6 separate regions of the Homo sapiens genome follow, and regions 1, 2, 4, 5 and 6 are each linked to region 3. Evidence: promoter capture Hi-C in 16 types of primary human blood cells and fetal thymus (Javierre and others, 2016). All regions are on one chromosome and are shown on one strand. The core of a region is centred on a gene start or on the middle of the fragment in contact, and the rest is flanking DNA. Distances in the headings are between cores, read along the strand shown. Region 1 overlaps HDX (highly divergent homeobox). Region 2 has its middle 210 kb from the start of HDX. Region 3 holds the start of HDX (highly divergent homeobox). Region 4 overlaps HDX (highly divergent homeobox). Region 5 has its middle 230 kb from the start of HDX. Region 6 overlaps HDX (highly divergent homeobox).

Region 1 (3,937 bases), core at 1,299-3,798, 140 kb before region 3:
GAGATTCTGTCCGTGTCTCCTCTCTTGCAGTATGGCTGTCTCAAGGAGGCTCTATGGCTGTCCATAGAACCTGAACACTGTTGTCATGGCACAAGGTACTTATTAGTACCAGAGGCATGATGAAGTTTTTTAAAAAATGAAAAACTCAGTAGAGAAATTGGAGAATAAATTAAGGGATATCTTGCTGAAAGTAGAGCAAAAGGAAAAACAGATTGGAAGTGGAAATCTTAGAGTCCAGGTGCATAAAATAACCAATTCAGTTGGAGCAGATCAGAAAAATGCCAGGAGCTATTTCTCTAAGATGATGGAATTATTATATTACCAATGAGTATGAATGTGTTGAAAGGAGACTTAGGCAACTGGGAAAGGGTTTAAAGATAAATTAGTAGTGAGTACCTAGAAAATAACTCAAGCAAACATATGAATATCAAAAGCATAAATTAAGTAAATTATGAACTACAGGGAAATAAAACAATGCTAAGTTATGCAGAAAAGGAAAAAATGATATTTCACTACATAATTCAAATGTGTAAAGCATTTACATAGTCATAATAATGAATACCAAGCTGACCAAAGTTATAGGAGGATAAGGAGAGAGGAATTATGCATGTAAGTGAACAGATCAATGAGGAAATCTTAAAGAGATTTTTTTTTAAGCTTTGCATTTCACAGTGAAAAATCAATAGACTATGCCCAACATTGAACAAATCAGGAAGTTGCAATGTAAACATATAAGAGAGACTGCTGTCTATTCCCCATATTTGTCCTCACCTTCCAGAATAATAGAAGATTTAGCTGGGCACATGGTTGCTCACAGTAAAATTACATTTGCAGCTTCTCTTGTAGTTTGGTATGACCATGTGACTAATCTTTAGCCAATGGGATATAAGTGAACAGATCTCATGGCAGTTTCCAGAAATCCTTGTTAAAAGACAGCTGGTGAACAGCCTTTGCCCCTTATTCTTCTCCCTCTCTGTCATGCTGCCTTGAGTATGTATGCTATCATTTTGGGCCTTGATAAAAAGGGCCACATCACAGGGACAGCGGAATGGAAACTGGAAGGCATCAGGGTTTTTGTGGATATTGTAGAGCCAAACTGCCATGCTAGCTGTAAATTGCATATACATGGACTTATACATGGAATTGAAATATCTTGTCTAAGCCATTGTTACTTTTGGGTCTTTTTAATACTTACAGCTAAACCTAATTCTAATTAATACAACACATCATTCATAGATGAAAGTAAATACTGAAGGAAATAACTAAAAGTGGAAAGTGGTTCAACTCGGGCTATTGCAAAATGGTAGGAAGGAAGGAGTGAGGAATGTTGGTGTTGTAGCAAATTCTACAGAACTTGACTTCCTAAGCTATATACGTATATAACTTTGATTTAAAAAAAATAAAAATGACAATGACAACAAGAACACATGCTCTACATTTCCCTATTTTTGGCTGTTGCTTAAGCTCCTCATACTATGACTCTACTCCAATTCCTCTTCAGTCATTTTTTTTCTTGTGTCATCCCTCTTGCTAGACTCTGAGCTCCTTAAAATAGAAATAATGTCTAATGCACTTCTCTCTCCTTGTTAGTATACTTTAACACATAGCAGCATGCTCAACAAACACAGTATTGAATTTGATTTTCCATCTGGATTCTAACAAGAAAAAGCAAGACTCTGAACAGGGCAGTACTTATTTTGAGAATAGTATTTATTTTCAGAAATCTCTACTCAAAAATTCTCTCTATATTGCTCTTTTCTTCATATATATATGAGATAAGAGCTGGAGTCTCATTAGGTTGTCCTGGCTGCACTTGAACTCTTGGGCTCAAGTGATCCTTCCACCTCAGCCTTCTGAGTGGCTGGGACTACAGGTATGTACTACCAAGCCTGGCTCTTTGTCACTTCTTTAATATACTTCCCTCTTGATCTACTGAGATGATCCTCCAGTGTGTGTACTGGTGTCAACCTACACTTGCTCACAAGCGTCAACTGTTAGCATCTCTTCCCAACTCTGTGTTGAGTGAGACATGGAATCAGCTGTGGTAGGAATCTTTACACCACGGAAATCAGCAAATACTATTAATTAAGGCTTTTTTTTTCCTTAAAGAATTGATTGCTAAGTACTTACCAGCACTACCACTTTCAAAATTTTATCTTTTAAATGGAACATAAACTACTGTTCCAATGATTGATCAGTATAATTTTTAAAATTTTATTTTATTTTATTTTATTTTAAGTTCTAGGATACATGTGCAGGACCTGCAGGTTTGTTACAAAGGTAAATGTGTGCCGTGGAAGGGGTTTGCTGCACTTATCAACCCATGAACTAGATATTAAGCCTTGTATACATTAGCTTTTTTCCTGTTGCTCTCCCTTCCCCCACCCCCCAACAGGCCCCAGTGTGTGTTGTTCCCCTCCTTGTGTCCATGTGTTCTCATTGTTCAGCTCCTACTTATAAGTGAGAACATGTGGGGTTTGGTTTTCTGTTCCTATGTTAGTTTGCTGAGGATAATGGCTTCCAACTTCATCCATGGCCCTGCAAAGGACATGATCTCATTCCTTTTTATAGCTGCATAGTATTCCATGTTGTATATGTATCACATTTTCTTTATCCAGTCTATCACTGATGGACATGTGGGTTGCTTCCATGTCCTTGCTATTGTGAATACTGCTGCAATGAACATACGTGTGCATGTATCTTTATAATAGGATGATTTATAATCCTTTGGGTACATGCCCAGTAATGGGATTGCTGGGTCAAACGGTATTTCCGGTTTTAAGTCTTTGAGGAATCACCACACTGTTTTTCACAATGGTTGGATTAAAGACTTAAATGTAAAACCCAAAACTATAAAAACCTTAGAAGAAAATCAAGGCAATACCATTCAGGACATAGGCATGGGCAAAAGATTTTATGACAAAAACATCAAAAGTAATTGCAACAAAAGCAAAAATTGACAAATGGGATCTAATTAAACAAAAGAGTTTCTGCACAGCAAAAGAAACTATAATCAGAGTGAATAGAAAACTTACAGAAAGAGAAATTTTTTACAATATACCCATCTGACTAAGGTCTAATATACACAGTCTACGAGGAACTTAAACAATTTTACAAGTAAAAAACAAACAACCCCATTAAAAAGTGGGCAAAGGACATGAACAGAGAGTTCTCAAAAGAAGAAATTTATGCAGCCAACAAACATGAGAAAAAGCTCAACATCACTAATCTTTAGAGAAATGCAAATTAAAACCACAATGAAATACCATCTCACGCCAATCAGAATGGCAATTATTAAAAAGTCAAGAAACAACAGATGCTGGCAAGGCTGTGGAGAAATAGGAACACTTTTACACTGTAGGTGGGAATGTAAAATAAATTTTTATCTATCATTCATTATATGAGATATATTTCAATTCACCTCATGTAATTTTTAAACAATGTTATTGAGATATATTTAAAACACCACACAATTCATTTATTTAATATGTACAATTAAAATGTTTTCAACATATTCACAGTGCTGTGCACCAGTCACCACTAACTAATCTAGAACATTTTCATCATGCCAAAAATAAATCCCATGCATATTAACAGTCAGGTCCCATCCCTCCCCTCCCTCAGCTCTTGGCACCACTAACCTATTTTCTGTCTCTAGAGTGTGCCTAATGAGGACACTTCATATAAATGAAATAATATAATATGTGGTCTTTTGCAATGGGTTTCTTTCATTTAGCATAATGTTTTTAAGGTTCATCCGTTTTATAGCACATATGAATATTTCATTCCTTTATATGGCTCTATAATAGTCCATTATATGCATATATCCAGATGTTGTCTATACATTCACTTGGTGGATGTTTGGGTTGTTTCCATTTGGATATTATGGAAAACTCTGTTATGAATATCAGTGTGCAACTTTTTGAGTTGGATATAC
Region 2 (3,626 bases), core at 477-2,976, 210 kb after region 3:
AATTTTTTTTTAGGTTCAAGGGTACATATGTAGGTTTGTTATATAGGTAAACTGCATGTCATGAGGGTTTGCTGTACAGAAGACTTCCTCACCCAAGTAATAAGCATAGTACCAGATAGGTAGTTTTTTGATTCTCTCCCTCCTCCCACCCTTCACCCTCAAATAGGCCTCAATGTCTGTTGTTCTCTTTGTGTCCACGTGTTCCTATTGTTAAGCTCCCACATATAAGTGAGAACATGTGGTATTTGGTTTTCTGTTCCTGTTAGTTTGCTAAGCATGATGGCCTCCAGCTTCATCCATGTTGCTTCAAAGGACATAATCTCATTCTTTTTTGACTGTGTAGTTTTTCATAATGTACATATACCACATTTTCTTTATCTACTCTACTTCTGATGGACATTTAAGTTGATACCACATCTTTGCTATTGTGAATAGTGCTAAAATAAACATACACATGCATAGGTCTTTATAGTAGAACAATTTATGTTCCCTTGAATATATACCCAATAATGGGATTGCTGGGTTGAATGGTAATTATTTTAAGTTTTTTGAGGAATTGCCACACTGCTTTTCACAATGGCTGAACTAATTTACATTCCCACCCCCAGTGCATAAGCATTCTCTTTTCTCTGCAACCTTGCCAGTATCTGTTACTTTTTGTAATAATAACCATTTTGTAATAAGAGCCAATGGTATCTCATTGTGGTTTTGATTTTCACTTCCCTAATGTGAGATGGTATCTCATTGTGGTTTTGATTTGCACTTCTCTAACGATTAGTGATGTTGAGCATTTTTTTATATGCTTGTTGGCTGCATGTATGTCTTCTTTTGAAACGTGTCTGTTCGTATCCTTTGTCCACTTTTTAATGGGATTGTTTGTTTTACACGTATTAATTTTTTAAGTGCTATATAGATTCTTTATGTTAGACCTTTGTCAAAGGCATATTTTGCAAAAATTTTCTCCCATTCTGTCAGTTGTCTGTTTACTCTGTTGATAGTTTCTTTTGCTGTGCAGAAACTCTTTAATTAGATCTCATTTATCAATTTTTGTTTTTGTTGCAATTGCTTTTGCTTTTGGCATCTTTGTCATGAAATCTTTGCCAGTATTTATGTCCAGAAAGATATTTCCTAGGTTATCTTCCATGGTTTTTATTGTTTTGTGTTTTGCATTTAAGTCTTTAATCCATCTTGAGTTAACTTTTGTATAAGGTGTAAGGAAGGGGTCCAGTTCCAATCTTCTGCATATGGCTATCCAGTTATCCCAGCACCATTTATTGAATGGGGACTCCTTTCCTCATTGCTTTTCTTTTTTTTTTTTTTTGGGACTTGCAAATGTCATATGATTATAGGTGTGTGGCTTTTATTGCCTGAGTTTTCTATTCTGTTTCATTGGTCTATGCACCTGTTTTTGTACCAGTACAATGCTGTTTTGGTTACTATAGCCTTATAGTGTAGTTTAAAGTCAGGTAATGTGATGCCTCTGGCTTTGTTCTTTTTGCTTAGAACTGCTTTGGCTATTCAGGCTCTTTTTGATTCCATATGAATGTTAGAATAGTTTTTTTTCTAACTCTGTGAAAAATATCGGTACCAAATAAGTGTCTACTATGCCTCCTCTTACATTTGAATATTAATTCTGAAATTTTAGTTTAGAAAAGGTTTTCACTATGACTTTCTATTAAGCACAGGTGCTACTAGTAAAGCAATACTGTCCTCTAAGTGCCTAAGTATACTGTGTTTCATTTTAAATGCAACTGAGAAATTACAACTTTATGATTTGTTTTGCTTTGCAGCCAATAACTATAACTAGTTCAATAACTACAACTAGTTCATCAAGTGAATGTAGATTTCCTCTTCAAGTTGTGTCTCTTCAAAATGAAAGAGTACCTGACAGTTTTGAATATTTTTCTCCAGGAAAGCTCAACACTCCAAGGTAAGCCTCATTGATAATTGAGTCTACAAATCTTATCATGGAGTAAAATATACACATAGTTTACTTTTATTTTATACTACATTTTAACATGATATTCAGCCTCCAGAATAATGATGTATTGATTGGATAAGGACAAGAAAATGGTATATTTGCAAGGAAGTAGCCTAGTCAGGCAATTACTTTCAGATGTGCTGTAAAACAGTTAATGTGAGGCAAGATGTAAGTGAGTGTAAAATCTGTGTACACTGATAGTCTTCCAATTTGTTCACAGGAAGTTTAGTGTTTTATCTTGCTTTCTACAGCCTGAAATATAAAAATATGTACTATATAATGCTTTCCTAAAATAGGATTTTCAACAAAAAAAAGTGTTTGCTAACATTTGATGAATATTTAAACAAGTATTCATTCATGTTTGTCTTTTCTTTAAGTAATGAAGAAGCTGTTACTACGCAACAGGATGAAGGAAATGAATCTGAAACAGAAGTTTCTCACACAAAAGGTTCTGAAATTTTATCTGGTTCTTTGGACTATAAAAGTCTCCAACATCTGACAATAATTAAAAGTCATAGTCCCCTTATGGACTCTGACTCTGAAGGATGTGATTGATTCTGACTCTGATAGAGGCATTGGTTTGGACTCTGACTTAGAACAACACTTGAAAGACTCTGACTCGGTAATATGGGGAATGGACTCAGAAAAACATACTAGAGACTCAGACTGTGAAACACCTGCTAGAAGCAGAAAACTACCAAATAGCTTCAGGCTATGCAGAAAACCCGATGAGAGTTGAACAGTGCCAGGTGGACTCTGACTCTCTGCAACACTGGATGGACTTTGGTTCAGTAAAAATGCTTGGTAGATTCTGACTCTGAAAAATATCTGTATTCTGACAATGAAAGACTGGGGATAGACTCAGACTCTGAAAAATGCCCCATGGCCTCTGCATCTGTGAAACACTTGCTGAAGACAGAGAAATGCCAAATGGCCTCAGATTCTGTAAAACACCTGATGGACTCTGAAAAAATATTGACTGAGACTGAAAAACTCTGGATGGTCTCTGCTTCTTAGAGGTATCTGATGGACTCAGACACAGAGATGGGTGAAACGGTCTCAGCCTCTTTACCTGGGGTACATCTGATGGAGGAAGAAAAATACCAGGAGAAGGCTAGATCTAAAAGATATATGATGGACTTTAGCTCTGAACCATGTGGGATGGACTTAGATTCAGGAAGATATGGGCTAGGCTTAGCAGCTTTCAAATTTCTCATGAATGCTAATACATTCCATTTGAGGACTGACACTGAAGGGCTCTGGATGAATTATGGGTCTGAAAGACGTACAATGGACTCACACTCTGAAAGCCTGGGGATGAGCTCTGATTCTGGAAAACACATGATAAAGTCTGAAAATTGCCAAAGAACCTCTGAATTGGAAAGATGCTGGACAAGACTCAAGTCTGAATCTGAAAGATATCAGATGGACTCTAATAAAATACAGTCAGATTTTGACTATGGTAGATTCTGGGATTGTTCTATAACATAGCAGCATAGGTCTGCAAGACTTTTGAATAGCTCTGGAAGATATCAGGATGGCCCTCTAAAATATTTGGAAAACTTTGAAAGACATCATGTAGACTCTAATTCTAAAAACACACAAATTCTAAAAAATTAAAGACAACAACATTGAGTTTGAAAGT
Region 3 (3,541 bases), core at 482-2,981:
AAGGTAGATTGTTCTCACTAACTGAACATTAAAGAGAGTTGTGCCCTGAAGAATAAAGGAAAATAAGGCTCCTGCATTACAATGAGGCCAGATTATGAAGTTCTTTAAAATTCGGGTGGAATTAGGCTTGAAACAATAGAAAATAAGGGGCCAAGAATATGTTGGTTAAAGAAAGTGATTTGTTGAAAGAAGTGTTCACAGACCACTAAGGATTTGGGGCACAGGTGAAGACTGCCTAGGAAGCTCCTACAGTGACTACATGGGTGCTGATGAGAATTTAGATTGTAAAGGAGGAACGTGTGAGAAGGCTTTCAAAGGAAAATTTACCAGTACTTGATAATCCCTTAACTATGAGAAATAGAGAAAAATCCAGATTCCTCTGTAAAATTGTCAGGAGTCTATGATCAGACTGTGGAGGGCAATTAATAACAATACTGTACAATCTATTCATCAATAATAGACAGGCAGGTTGTTCTTCATTGTTCCCCACAACTGCTGAGTAATAAAAGCCTTAATATAAGTAATATAACAGCCTTCCCAATGAAGGGGTGCGGGAAAGGGCTTCTCAAAATAATATTTGACTTCAGTGATTCTAGCAGAGACACAGAGGAAGAAGATGGACTCAGCACCAAACTTGATATGGAGACTAAATATTTATAAGAGATTGTCCCAAGAAGAGAAAAAGGCAAGAAAGGAAAATTTCTTACTCTGAGCCTCCACAATGGACTTCATTCTGAGTCTTTCCAAAGAATTTAAGGTTCAAAATCATTGTCACCTCAAATCAGAGCTCCTTTAAGATTAAAAGTTAGATTCATTTGAATAATTAGTGTTTATTTTTCCAAACAGTTTCTTATCTGATAAACTTCTATTTCACAAATTCTTCTAGAGTTCATTCCGTTATTCAACATCTAATATCTGGAAATTTAGAATGTGCCTTCTCAAATTTATAAGGCTCATTTTGAAGCTGGATTTACTCAGTAGGCCAGTTTAAACTAAATGGCAGATCTCTCCCCATCAACTGGTGCTTGAAACATCACAAGGCCTGGGATGTTCCCTGGGTCTCTACTTTCCAAATTCAGCACAGAAATGGCTCAGCCCCACCTCTTCCAGTGAAACCGAAACAGCGCCTGTGCAAACTCCACGCCTATTCTCCTCACAGTGACCCACCCCGCCCCCACCAAGGTGCTAATGCGCAGGCGCTACGCTCTCAGTGCCTTTGAGTAGGGCTGTGAGAAATCTACTGTCCAGTGAAATCTAGAAGTGGTAGAATTCAATCCCCTCCTTTCTTCGGAGGCAGAGGCGCCACTTCCTCCTACTACCCGTCCAGAAGCGCGTCCCAAACATCGCTCTCTCTCCGAGCAAGGTCCTTCGCTCTCTGGCAATCCCCATTGTATCCCTATCCGCAGCTCGTTTCTAATCTCACTCAGCCGCCAGCCTTCGCTAGGAGGATAGAGGCACTTGGCTCCCTAGGATCCGCACCAGTTTTTTGTCTGCCTGTTTAGGCCACGGAACCTATGGACCCCCCCACCCCCAACCTCGCCCCAAACTAGGAAAAGCATTATCCCGGTGCTTTGCCCTCCCTCCTTCGCCCTTCTCACCCACTTAGTGTTGAGTGCTTACCTCGGGTGTGGTGCGGTTACGAAAGGAATCAGCGGAACCCAGATCAGGCCGCTGCTGGGGCAGGCGGATTCAGCGAGATTTTTCCTGGGTCTCCAGTGCCGCTTCAGACAATGAAATCAGCGTGTCCGATCATCAATTCTCATCATGATCGTGACGTCACAAAAGACAGCGGCCAATGGGAGCCTGCGATCAGCTCAGGACAGTCCCTGGCCTCAGCCCAGAACCCAAGAGTTGGGAGGGGGGAAGAGAGATGGCTGCCTGCAACTGGACTGCCTCTTCCTCACACAAATCAGCTACATCTACGGCCAGGGCTCTCTATACCTTCCTGAATAGCTGTGAACACCGAGCATCCCTGTGACTATAGTAGTTACATGCCAGCCATTTGAGCAGGTGCTGCCTGGCCTTCCAACTTGACATTGGGTTTTAACAAAATTGTTACATGCTGCCAAAATCAAATGATAGCATAAGGAAATACAGTCCTTTGTGGTCAGTGTTCGATTGACAGGTAAATATTCAGTTTTACTAAAATCAATAAGGTGTCCATCGAGCCTTTAGAATTTTACAGTAAAAGCAAGTGTACTATTATACGTGACTGGTTGGCTCTGATGACTGAGGAAAGAAACTATGGTTTTTATTCATCCAACCTCAATTCCTATTCTGGCAGAAGCTTCTTGGGTGATCACCATTATACCATTCCAGAAAAGAAGTCAAGCCACATGTTACATCATTTAACAGTCACTTGATATACTTCCCAGATTTGCTGGATGCCATGAGAGATATAGAATTCATTGATTCTCTGCTATCATAGAACTTGCAACATCGTTTGGAAGACAAGATTAGCACACAGTAAATATTCACAACAATAAAATAAAGTACATGATCATGTGCTCAGTCATTAACTACAGACAAGAGCTACATTATTTAATTATTGGAGACATCAGTGAGGTGAAAAGTCAGGGAAGCATTTTATGTAATTAAAACTTGAGATGGTTCTTGAATGGTGGATAAGAGCAGATGGAAGTCACCGTCTTAAAGGGGAAAGATAGGCAAAGGTAGAGACGTATAAATTCATATGATGTGAGGAAGCCCATGATGAAATCAGCTTGACAAATAGAGGGCATATGCTGAGGACTAGTGGTAGATGGAATTGGCTAATAATAAAAGCCTTTGAAAATAGGCAGATAACTTTTATTTGATTAAAAGCCACCAAAAGCCATAAAGCATGTGACCTCAATCCTCTATAGTCAATTATCTACAGAGGAGTTTAGGTGATTTTTTAAAACAAAAGCCAGATTATGCTCAACTTCAGATTGTTCAATGGTTTCCTTTCACATATACAATAAAATGCAGATTTCTTACCATGTCCTCAAAGCCCTAAATGATCTGGCCTCCGCCATCTTTCTGACCTCACCTCCTGTCACTCAGCCACTAATTCACAAATATATTAATCTTCTATTTCTCAAACAAGTCAAGCTCATGTCCACAGCAGTGACCCTGTACTGTTGTACTGTCTGATCTTTATATGACTTACTCCATCACTTGATTGAAATCTTTGCTCAAATGCAACCTCTTTAAAGAGGTTTTCCTATTTAAAATTGTGATATCCTTAACACTCTCTATACCCTTTTTTCTGTTTCATTTTTCTTCATAGTATTTATTATTATTAAATGTATTTTATATATTTAGTTATTGCAAATGTAAGCTCTATGAAGGCAGGGATTTTTGTCTGTTTTGTTTATTATTATATCCCTCAAATCTAGAAAGCCTCTAAATACAAAGTAGACAAATAAGTAAGTACGTATTGAATGAATGACTGAAAGCACATTTTTCAAGTCATTAATTTGCATTTTCAGTAACATTGCGATAGGCTGGAGTGAGAGAGACCAGTTAGACAGTTGTAATGCTAACCCAGCTTCTAGGT
Region 4 (3,701 bases), core at 725-3,224, 160 kb before region 3:
GTGTCCCCTCCCAAAACTCATGTCAAATTGCAATCCCCAATGTTGCAGTTGGAGCCTGGTGGGAGGTGATTGGATCATGGGGGTAGATTTCCCTTTTGATGCTGTTCTTGTAAGAGTGAGTGAGTTCTCAAGAGATCTGGTGTTGAAAGTGTGTAGCACCCCATCCCTCTTCTTCCTGTTCCAGCCATGTAAGACCTGCCTGCTTCCCTTTCACCTTCTGCCATTATTGTAAATTCCTGAGGCCTCCCTGAGAAGAAGCCAGCAACATGCTTCCTTTACAGCCTGCAGAACTGTGAGCCAATTAAATCTCTTTTCTTTATAAATTACCCAGTCTCAGGTATTTCCTTATAGCAGTGCTGGAACAAACTGAAGCAGACCTGCAGGACATTATGCTGAGTGAAATAACTGAACACAGAAAGGAAAATATTGCATGATCTCACTTATATGTGGAATCTTAAAAACAGGTCAATTTAATTTTTTTAAAGAACGGTTCATAGACAGAGGAGCCTTTACCTACTCATTATTTAGACATTTCAAATCACAGACATTTCAATTCCTATGTAATCAGCAACAAAATGTAATGAAGGAAGGGAAAAAGTGTCATCAGCCAGTATTAGCACTAGTGGCCTCAGAAGAGAGTTTATATTGCTTATCAACAAGGTAACATTCTTTAAAGGTTTGCCTTATATTCCTATTCTCCTTTTCTCATAACTTTGTACACAGTTCTCCTTTACTGGCAACATATTTTGTACATGGTTTGATTATTTTGGAAGATTAAAATTAAAACTATATTGAGGATTTCTAAAATAAAAGGATGTGAAGTGATACAGTTGAATAAGGAATGTTTTCTTTCGCTTACAGAAGCTTCAATATTTGTGAATGTTTGAAATCTAAACACTATCTACGTGCCTGGTAATTCCCCAAGAAAAGCAGCTCTGCTAATTGGATAATAAAGTGGAATAATTACCCAGTAAAAACTCTAGAGGGCGCCCTATGTGGTGGCTGTATGTACTCCCACTAAGTAACTGTATAATTATCTTTCACGTGCATACCCATATAATAGATACAGCTGAAAAAAGAGGCTGTGATGTAAAATTTAATGACATAGATGTTAATTGTTCTCATCTTTAAAAATTTTGGTTCTCAGGATAGTAAAAATCTTTAAAGTTGTTCAAACATAAATTTATTTTTCACTGTATATTAATTGTAGATACAGAAATTAAGGAGCTCAGCCATCTAGCTATTACTTTTGCTACAGTTTGCAGTTGTGGGAGGGGTGAGCTCAGGTAGGTTTATTTGTTTTTGTTTTTGTTTTTTATCTTTCCTAACCACACTTCTTTTCTCTTCATCACCACACAGGGAAAGGGAAAGGAAATGGGAAAGGGAAGGTGGGAGGTGGAAGGTGGAAGTTAGAGGTAAGTCAGAAGTTCTGTATTAGGGAAGTATCTACCCTCTCAGAAACAAATGAGTGGAACTGAAACTGCTAAAAGACCAGCAGCACTTTTTTTGACTCTTACTAAAGCTGCCTTTTACTGAATTTTAAAAAAATCTTAATTTTTGCTTATACAGATTTTTCTAGAATATTTTAATGTGATTTTCAATTGATTTTTAATATGTAATATGTAACCCTAACTTAAAGATATCTTTCCCTTCTTAGATAATGCTACTGAATCAGTAGCCCTATTATAAGCAGTCTGAATTTCAGTTGTTAGGTTTTTGAAATACTATGGGCAGCTAATTTTAGAATAATCTAAAGATTATTTTTTCTTTATATTTCTTAGATGTAATTAATGGAAATTTCAAAGTAGAAATATATTTAAATACATTTTCATAAACTGGAAGGAAAATGGTTAGCATATTTTAAAGGCATGATATTAATTTAGGCCAGATGATATGATTCACTTAATCAAACGAATCGTATTAGTATTCTCCACTAGCAAAATGAGGAAGAGAATAGGACATAACTAGTAGGAAACTGTACCAAAAAGGGCTGTTTTCAGTATTTGAAAATGATTTTATGCTTTTCTGTTGCAATTTCTGTGAGAATGAAAAGGTTACCATGCAGCTGTGGAAAGATAAGCCACCGATAAAAAATTCTAGGCAATCACACTTCTGATCAAGTGTTTTTTGATTCATGCATTAAATTCTCTTTCTTCTTTTTCTCATTGTGTCTTGATTACTATGCCAGCTATTTAAAGAACACACCATGACAAAGAATGTCAGTGTAGGAGCAGTGGTCCATTAAGAGTGGACCATTAAGTGGTCTTTAAAATTAACTTTCACTTTTTTTCCTTCAACTACTTATTTTCTAAAATTATCTTTTAGGTGGAGAAGTGGGAGTTGGGAAACGAAACTTCACTTAGGGTCTTCTGTACTTTCTCTGAATATTTTCTCTCAGCTCACCCACTCAACCACAGAAACACACAAATCCCTACTTCCCCACTCTCCTTCAGCTAGTCACCACTCAGCAGGCTCTAAAACACCAGTCATGAGTCACTGGGAATATCCAAGTATCTCCAGGCATATGCAATTTAGTAAACACTAACCAATGACAGAAATGGTTTAAAGGACCAACTATATTAGAAATAAAGGGCTTGGAAATGGTGCAATATTTCTTTTTTTCTTGATAATTTTAAAATCTGCCTCACTATTTCCCTGTACACTTAATTCTCTGTTATCATCTTCAATATGAATAACAAATGTTAAGAAAGAGAGAGAGAGAGAAACTTGAATATTCACATAGATAACATTTCAAATACCTGATCTTAACATGCATGGCCCTCTTAATACTAGTAGCTTTGCTTTCCCTTTCATTACTCAACCTACTGCAATCTGCTTGCCTCTCCTCTCCCCATGCAGTTAATTGCTTTTTTAAAGAATTTCTAAAACACCAAATTCAATGGCTTTCTCATCCCTTTTTCTACTTAACTTCTATGAGACCACGAGACTACTGAAATAATGACGCCTCTTCCTTCTGAAATCTCCTTATTTGTTTTTTTTTTTTTCTTAATTTTAGAGACAGAAGTCACTACGTTGCTGAGGCTGGAGTACAGTGGCTATTCACAGGTGCAATCAGAACACACTGAAGCTTCAAACTCCCAACTTCAAGGGATCCTTTTCGCCTCAGCTTTCCAAGTAGCTGAGACTACAGGCATGCCACTGCACCCGACTCTTTCCTTGATTTTAGGAAAAGCATACTGTCCTGCTTCTTCTGTTTCTGAATGTTCTTTCAAGGGCTCCCTTTTCTCCTCCAATGCCCAAATCTGGATATTTATCAATACACAGTCTTTGTCCATTGTCCTTTCTTGTTTTTCATTTTCTCACTTAACTAAATCTTCAATCTTCATGGCTAGATATTTTTTGCCTCAATGTGGGTGACTTCCATATTTCTTTTTATGTCTTAAGCACTCATCTGAGTTTCAGACTCATATCATCCAAAGGCCTGCTTGGACAGCTCTACATGGATGTCCAACCACTATCTAAAATTCAATACGTGCAAAGCTGAATTCATCTTCCTACAGTATTCTATAAATTTAATACAATGCCAAGAAAAATCTTGAATGGATGTTGGGGAAGGAGATTTGGAAAAGGTATGCTTAAACAGTTCAAATTGTATGACTAAACAATTCAAGAATCAATATACTACAAAGCAAAGAAGAATGAGGGCCCTACCAGCTATTAAGACATTTTATAAAGCCAAA
Region 5 (3,749 bases), core at 315-2,814, 230 kb after region 3:
TCTTGTATCTTGAGCTTTGACAAAATTATATATTAGTACTAATAATTTTTAGTAGATTCATTATGATTTTCTGAATACAATAATATATCATTTGCAAATAAAGTTGCTTTTTTCTTTCCAATTTACATGTTTTTTATTTCTTTTCTTTCCCTAATTTCTCTGGTTAGAAGTTCCATTACAATGTTGAATAGAAATGAGAAAGTAGCCATCATTGTTTCATTTCTTAGGGGAAAAACATCCAGTATTTCACCATTAAACATGATTTATGTTGTGAGTTTTTATAGTCTTCTTTTATCAGAGAGTGTTCTGTTTCTAGTTTGTTAAGTGTCTTTATCATAAAAGAGTGTAGAATGTCATCAGATTTTTTTCCACATGTATTGATATGACCTTGTGGTTTTGTTTTTTATTCTATTAATATAGTGTATTACATTAATTGATTTTTGCATGTTAAACAAACCTTGCATTTTGGGGATAAATCCCAGTCATGATGTATAATCCTCTTAATATGTTGCTGAATTAAGTTTGCTAGTATTGTGTTGAGGATTTTTGCATCTGTTTTCATAAGAGATACTGGTCTATTCTTTTATTGCGATATCTTTATGTGGCTTTGGAATCAGAGTAATTCTGACTTCATAGTATATATTAGAAAGTGTTCTCTTATATTTCATGAGAAGAATTGGTGTTAATTCTTCTTTTAATGTTTGTTAGACTTCACTATTGAAATCATCTGGTCCTGTGCTCTCCTTTTTTTTTTTTTTTTTTTTGAGACAGGGTCTCACTCTGTCACCCAGGCTGGAGTGCAATGTCATGATCTTGGCTCACTGCAACCTCTGCCTCCCAGCCTCAAGCAATCCTCTCACTTCACCCACCTAAGTAGCTTGGACTACAGGTGTATACCACCACACCTAGCTATTTTTTTTATATTTTTTTTGTAGAGATGAGATTTTTCCATTTTGCCCAGGCTGGTCTCCAACACCTGGACTCAAGTGATCCACCCACCTTAGCCTCCCAAAGTGCTGGGATTACAGGTGTGAGCCACCACACCCAGCCTGGATGTTCTTGATTACTGACTCAACCTCTTCAATTATAGGTCTGTTCAAATTCTCTATTTCTTCTTGAGCAAGTTTTGATAGTTTCTTTCTAGCAATTTGTTCATTTCATCTACATTGTCTAGTTCGTTAGTGCACAAGTGTTCATAATGTTTTTCTATAATCCTTTTTATTTCTGTAAGCACTATAGTAATGCCCCATTTTCATTTCTATTTTTAGTAATTTGAGTCTTCTCTCTTTTCCTAGTCAGTCTAGCTAAAGACTTGCCAATTTCGTTGATCTTTTCAAAGAGGAAACTTTTGGTTTCATAGATCCTCTCTATTTTTTTTTTCATTCTCTCTTCAATTTTCTCTCCCCTAATCTTTATTATTTCTTCCATCTTCTAGCTTTGAATTTAACTTGTTCTTTTCCTAATTCTTTGAGGTATAAGGTGATGTTATTGATTTGAAATCTTTCTTTCTATATAATGTATCAACAACTATACATTTTCCTCCGATCACCATTTTTGCTGCATCCCATAGATTTTTGTATGCTGTATTTTCACCTTCTTTTGTCTCAAAATATTTGAAAATTTTTCTTTTAACTTGTCTTTGACTCTTGGTTGTTTAAGAGTGTGTTTTTTAATTTCCACATATTTGTAGATTTTCCATTTTTCTTCCCCTATTGATTTCTTGTTTCTTTCCATTCTAGTTGGAGAACATAGCTTACATTTTTAACCTTTTTAAATATATTTGTTTCTTATGCTCTGTCATATAGACTATACTGGAGAATGTTCCATGTAGATTTAACAATAATTTATTTGTTGTTTAGCGGAGTGTTTTATTGGTGTCTCTTAAGTCTAACTGGTTTTCTATTTATTTTTTGATCTTTCATCTAATTGTTATATCCATTATTGAATATGGGGTATCAAAATGCCCAACTCTCTCTGTTCATTTCTGTCAAGTTTTGATTCATGTATTTCAGTACTTTCTTATTAAATATATGTATACTTATAATTGTACTATCCCCATGGTGGGTTCAATGTTTTACCATTAGAAAATGTGTGTGTTTTAAAGTCCTCTGTGTTTAATATTAGCACAGTCACTTAAACTTTCTGTGGCTGCTGTTTGTATGATTTATATTTTTTCATCCTTTTACATTCAATCATTTTGTATTTTGAAATCTATACTGTGAATTGTCTAGGTGGCATATAGGTGACTCTTATTTTATTATCCCATCTGACAATCTCTGCTTTTGACTGGATTGTTTAATCCATCCACATTTAATGTTATTACTGTTACAGTAAGATTTAAGTATGCCATTTTACTTTTTTATTTCCAATTTGTTTCATGTCTTTTTTCATCCTCTATTTCTTCTTTACTGCTTTCCTTTGCATTAAGTGAATGTTTTCTAATGAAACATTTCATTATTTATCATAACCTTTTTGTAATTTATTTTTATTTCCTTAGTAGTTGCCCTACAGCTTACTATGCACATTTTAACTTATCAGAATGATCTTCAGATTTATGGCAACTTAATTCCAATGAGATATAGAAATGTTACTTCTATAGCACTGTATTATGTTTTTCTCCTTTATGGTATTAGTGTTTTTTATATATGTATATATTGTCTTAATGTTAAAAACCCATTAATACATTGCTATAATTATTATTTTATACAAGTTTATGTCATTTAGAGAATCTGAGATAAGAAAGGAGAACAAAGATATATCCTCTGGAGAGGATGAGCACTGTGTCCTCACATGGCAGAAGGCAGAAGGACAAAAATGGTGCCTTACTAGTTGCCTCCAGCCCTTGTATAAGGTCACTAATCTCATCTATGAGGGGAGAATTTTCATGGCCTAATTACTTCCTAAAGGTCTTACCTCTTATTAATGTTATATTAGGGATTAAGTTTTAATATAAATTTTGGAAGGGACACATTCAAACCATAGCAGCATCCTTAGTTTTGAACTTCACTATTGCAAATAAAGTAAGTTTATTTGGGAAGAGAAAAGGATCTATCTGTTTTATGGCCTGCTTCTTCCACCAGGCAAAATCTCTGAGACAGATCTGGAGCTGGGGTTGGAGACAATGACACACTTGTCTTTGAGCAATACTCCTGCTCTAGGAGCTGAGCGCTCAGTGAATGTGGGGATAGACTTAGGTCTCCTTGACTCACTTCTCCTGTCATGGGACCACTGCCTTATGAGCTGGAGAAAAGGTAATTGGGGCCTCAGTATTCTAAGCATTACCATATCCAATTTAGAGCCTCCATTCCATGAGTGGGGACTGGCAAGAGAAAATGAGCCTCAACTTTTGGCCATACTCTCCCAACACTTAGCCTCAGCAACATGGAGCTGGGGGCAGGATAAGAAGTACTGATGTCCTGCTACTCCAGAGAAAGAAGTCCCCTAACTGAGAGCTCTGGGGAAAGGAAACCCTGTGCTCTTAGCTATTGAGAGGAGTTAGCCAGCTTGCTTTAGGCAGACGGTAAAGGAAGGGTCCTGAGAGAACCTCCGACCCACCCAGGTCATTGCCTAATCCACACATACCGCAAGTGCTTACACTAGATGTTTTGTGCAGATAAGGAAACTTGCACAGGGGGCTTGCCTAAACATGTCCACAGTTACACAGATAAGGGAAGTTATGCAGGAGACTTACCTAAACATGCCAGAAGTGGAAAATTCCATCCCTTGACACATGTGCAGTAAAGAAAATA
Region 6 (3,660 bases), core at 913-3,412, 180 kb before region 3:
AGGCCAATTTTCTTTTAAGGTTTTCTTTGCATGTGCTAATTTTCCTATTCTCCAGAGCAATTGCAATTCTCATTTTCTTGTGAATAAGTTTAGCTTGGCTGAAAAGAAGAAAATACCTTCCTTTTTTTTTCATATGTACACATTTTGGAAGGTAAGTGCTCTTACATACACATTTCTGGCTTAAAAACTGCTTGGCTGTTCTAAGCTTAAAGCAGACATAGAAATGTAGTTGAAAGAAAAAAAGAAGTTTTTTCTTGTTGTTGTTTTTTGTTTTTTGTTTTTTTCCACATTGGCTTCTGTCTCCCTGAGAGAGCCTTCAGATAGTAAGGTCTGTTTTAATAATCTCAAAGCCCTAAAGAAAGAAACACTAGTTAGTTAATTTTTATCCCCAGCCATGAAGATGTCCACAAGAGTAATTATAAGCTGATAATTTTTCCTGCTCTAACATATCTCAAAACCAACTCCTATCTACATATGTAAAAAATATACTTTCTTCATAACAACTTTTCAAAGCTTGACCTTGACATCTTTTTCAAAGTCTACCATGAATAATTTCAATCTGGCAATTATGATTCTTTTTCTATAGATAGAGGTATTTCCTTCAGTTCCTGCTACAGAATAGCCACATTTCATTTTAGAAGTGTTTTAATTCCAATGATGGTGAAGAAAAATATTCTGGTGCTGAAACACAAATTTCAAGACAAAAGGAGTTCTAAATGTATTGTTATGATTTATATAGTTTCTATTTTGATGAAATGTTAAACAGAGACAAAAAGATCATCTATGCTTTCTCTCAAAATTGTGGACTAGGAATCCTTCTAAGAATCACACCTAGCAGAACCTTAAATCTATTAAAAATTCTACTTAAATATGGTTTATTAATATCATAGAAGATGTTAAAAAGAAATAATTATTTGTGATGTTTACAGCTTGCTGAGAAATCCAATGTCCAGCACAGTGTCTTCTCTATAGCAGGAGCTCAACAAGTATTTTTCGATTTAGTGACTAATGGCTGATGCGTGACAAATAAAATCTATAGTGTTAAAAGCTGTAGGAGAGAATATACCTATAGTTAATTTGCAATGAGAACCAAATAAGAAGGGGCTTAAATTGAAGCAGAAGTAATTATATTTGAAAGATAAACTCAATGACTATGAAGCAGACCCTAGGAGAGACTTGAAGGCCTGGAATTTGTTCATGCTACTTAATAAGTGGTTTCTAACTTCGTTGTATATGGGGGCGACTCTTCATCTCATGGAGGAGTTGGTGTGACTGGTACATTTAATCGTAATATCTGAGGCTCTGTTACTCTCTGCTGCTTTCTCTGAATGGAATTTGACTTGTCAGCAAGAAAAACTAACTATTGTTTGCAAAACTCCATATGGCTCAAGGAAGCATATCTGAACACTGAAATATTCCTACTAACAAAGGGACCATATCAGTAGTATGGCAGCAATATAAACAAATAAGTGACAAAATGAAAGACTATCAGTGGGAGCTTACCTATTTGTGTGTGTGGGAGGATGGGACACTTCAAGGGTAAAGACATTTATGACTGCCTTTCTGTGTTCATAAGTTAGTACTAGTAAATTTCAAGATCAAATTTGGCTCTAATTACAAATTTTTAAAAATATCTGAATACCTACTAGGTACCAACAAAAATTAAAAACAAATTGGAAACAGAAACTTGATGGCTGAAACAGCCATCCAGCTACTTCATTAATCTTTTAGGTATAGATAGTAATTTAACCATGCAACACAATTGCACACTGCCAAGTCACAAATATATGACACTGTGGGCTTAGGGAGAAACTGACATTTTTTCTTCTATGGGTCTTGGTAATACCATCTGGTACTCCAGAAAGGAAGAACTACAAAGAACAGTCTACAGTGTGTTGCCATCTGGTACCTACTAATAATAGAAAACTGGGTAGCTTGCCCATTTTAGGTGTGTACTCATAGAATAGTATTCATGGAATTCAGAAGACTGTGATTTACAACCAAAGTAGTATAACTCTTTTTGAATACTATCCTTGGCTGATGGCTCTGTACAGGCCTCATATGGAAATGAGGTAAATTTTGTGGCAAAGCTGAATGACTAAATTTTTAAAAAATCTCAGCAGCTTACCTTGACTTCCTGTTTCATAACATGTAAGAACTAAAAAAGAATTATAAAGATGGTGATAAATTTAAAATATTTGTGTAACACTTCATCTAACCCAGGTATACAAATTTACTACTGGAATGTCAATCGTATCAATACTTGTCATTTGTAGTAATGAAGAATCCCCATCAAGACTAATTTTGACAACATTTTGTTTCTGTACACTTCGTAATTTATTTGACGTTATGTTGGTTAAATTACCTTTCCATTGTGCTTCCCCACCCCCACACAAATATTTGGGTTAGATAATAGAAGAACACCAGCAATTTACAATTACATACCTGTAATCATTTAATTTTCAGTCATTAGTTTAAGTCAAATTTTCATAGGGGTTAAAAACTAAATCAGAGAACTCATTAAATAATGAGTTAAATAATTTTTTAAAGTTTTGTTTTAAATGTTCAGTCCACTTTCCTGAGAAAAAGTGTAAGTGGATGATAGGAAAAGGAGAGAAGAAGAAAGAAGATGTAATGGCTACAAAAACAAGACTAATCAAGCTGTAGCAACTTGATAAGCAATGCTGAAATGTCTTTAGTTATTTTGTCTCTGGTTAGAAATTAGACATAATGAATTTCAGGGTTAAACTGCTGAAACTTAAATATAATTTTTTTCCAGAGTTCCATCAGTTAAAAAAATACTCTCTCAAACAATGCTTTTAAATTTCACCTACATTTTTGTTGCACTGTAGCCATTATATCTTGTACATTCTTCACAGAATACGTCCGTTTCAACAATGTGTTTTCCCAACTAAAGAATACCAGGGCAACAGAATGCAGTTATCTTGAAATGCACACCTGTTACGAAGCCAAAAGACTGTATCATATATTCCCTCCAACTGAAATCACAAACTTTCTGAGACATTTTTCTCTGACAAAGAAGATACACTGAATGAGGTATCATCAGGCTCCAGTGAGGCATGATTGAAATCCATTTCCTCTAATTCAGGAGGTAAATCTGACAGCAGTGCCTGAATAAAAAAAATAATATTTTTGGATTAGTATGTGGATAGATTGTTTTCCAATTTATATTAATAGTTGTAGTCCTCCCATGGTGAATTATCCTTATGGATTTAAAGAATAATTTATATTTCAGGATCTTAGACAATGCCTTACCTAAAAGAAAAATTCTTCATACATTATTCAGAAGGTAACAAAATTCTAGATGTTGAAAGTGTGAATTCTGTAGAGTAGAACCTGTACAAAGGGGATATTAGGAGGGAAATGAGCAACTCTTCTGAACCAAGTGCTTTGAAGTGTTTGAGGTTAGTGATTTTCATACTAGTTTTGAGTGTGCATTGATCACTGTTTAAGGGATTTAAAATTGCGTTCTTTGTTAAAATATTCATGCCAGTTATGCTGTCCTTTGTAGAAGACTGCATTTAACAAAAGACTATTTTGTTCTTCAGTGGGAGAAAGAACTTAGTAGTTAGGAAAAACCTCCAGCTATTTTACTTTAGACTAAATTTTAACAACTTGAAAAGACCAAGTAATTTTATT

The links. Contacts are between HindIII fragments. The CHiCAGO score rates a contact against its expected background, and 5 or more counts as called.
Region 1: a contact is called between a fragment that was not itself captured here and the fragment with the promoter of HDX in region 3, in 1 of 17 cell types (monocytes). The highest score is 10.2, in monocytes.
Region 2: a fragment that was not itself captured here is called in contact with the fragment with the promoter of HDX in region 3 in 2 of 17 cell types (monocytes and M0 macrophages); the score reaches 16.4 in monocytes.
Region 4: a contact is called between a fragment that was not itself captured here and the fragment with the promoter of HDX in region 3, in 4 of 17 cell types (monocytes, M2 macrophages, M1 macrophages and 1 more). The highest score is 19.3, in monocytes.
Region 5: a fragment that was not itself captured here is called in contact with the fragment with the promoter of HDX in region 3 in 1 of 17 cell types (monocytes); the score reaches 8.0 in monocytes.
Region 6: a fragment that was not itself captured here is called in contact with the fragment with the promoter of HDX in region 3 in 4 of 17 cell types (M0 macrophages, monocytes, M1 macrophages and 1 more); the score reaches 6.7 in M0 macrophages.

The regions. Positions count from the first base shown.
Region 1 is chrX:84,356,967-84,360,903 of GRCh38, forward strand. The region is part of intron 6 of HDX (highly divergent homeobox); the gene reads right to left. Among named protein-coding and RNA genes, the nearest start is that of MIR548I4, 130 kb to the left of the region's middle. The HindIII fragment of the contact is 3,787 bases long and covers 656-3,937 here.
Region 2 is chrX:84,714,809-84,718,434 of GRCh38, forward strand. It overlaps the pseudogene TEX16P. Among named protein-coding and RNA genes, the nearest start is that of HDX, 210 kb to the left of the region's middle. The HindIII fragment of the contact is 4,245 bases long and covers 1-3,626 here.
Region 3 is chrX:84,500,722-84,504,262 of GRCh38, forward strand. HDX (highly divergent homeobox) reads right to left here and starts at 1,732. Exons shown (of 11, transcript NM_001177479.2): 1 at 1,621-1,732. RefSeq lists a silencer at 1,756-1,905. The HindIII fragment of the contact is 2,765 bases long and covers 1-2,285 here.
Region 4 is chrX:84,338,724-84,342,424 of GRCh38, forward strand. All of the region lies in intron 7 of HDX (highly divergent homeobox), which reads right to left. Among named protein-coding and RNA genes, the nearest start is that of MIR548I4, 110 kb to the left of the region's middle. The HindIII fragment of the contact is 2,224 bases long and covers 863-3,086 here.
Region 5 is chrX:84,731,542-84,735,290 of GRCh38, forward strand. It overlaps the pseudogene TEX16P. Among named protein-coding and RNA genes, the nearest start is that of HDX, 230 kb to the left of the region's middle. The HindIII fragment of the contact is 7,467 bases long and covers 1-3,749 here.
Region 6 is chrX:84,318,884-84,322,543 of GRCh38, forward strand. HDX (highly divergent homeobox) reads right to left here. Exons shown (of 11, transcript NM_001177479.2): 11 at 1-3,131. The coding sequence ends at 3,006. Among named protein-coding and RNA genes, the nearest start is that of MIR548I4, 95 kb to the left of the region's middle. The HindIII fragment of the contact is 3,302 bases long and covers 512-3,660 here.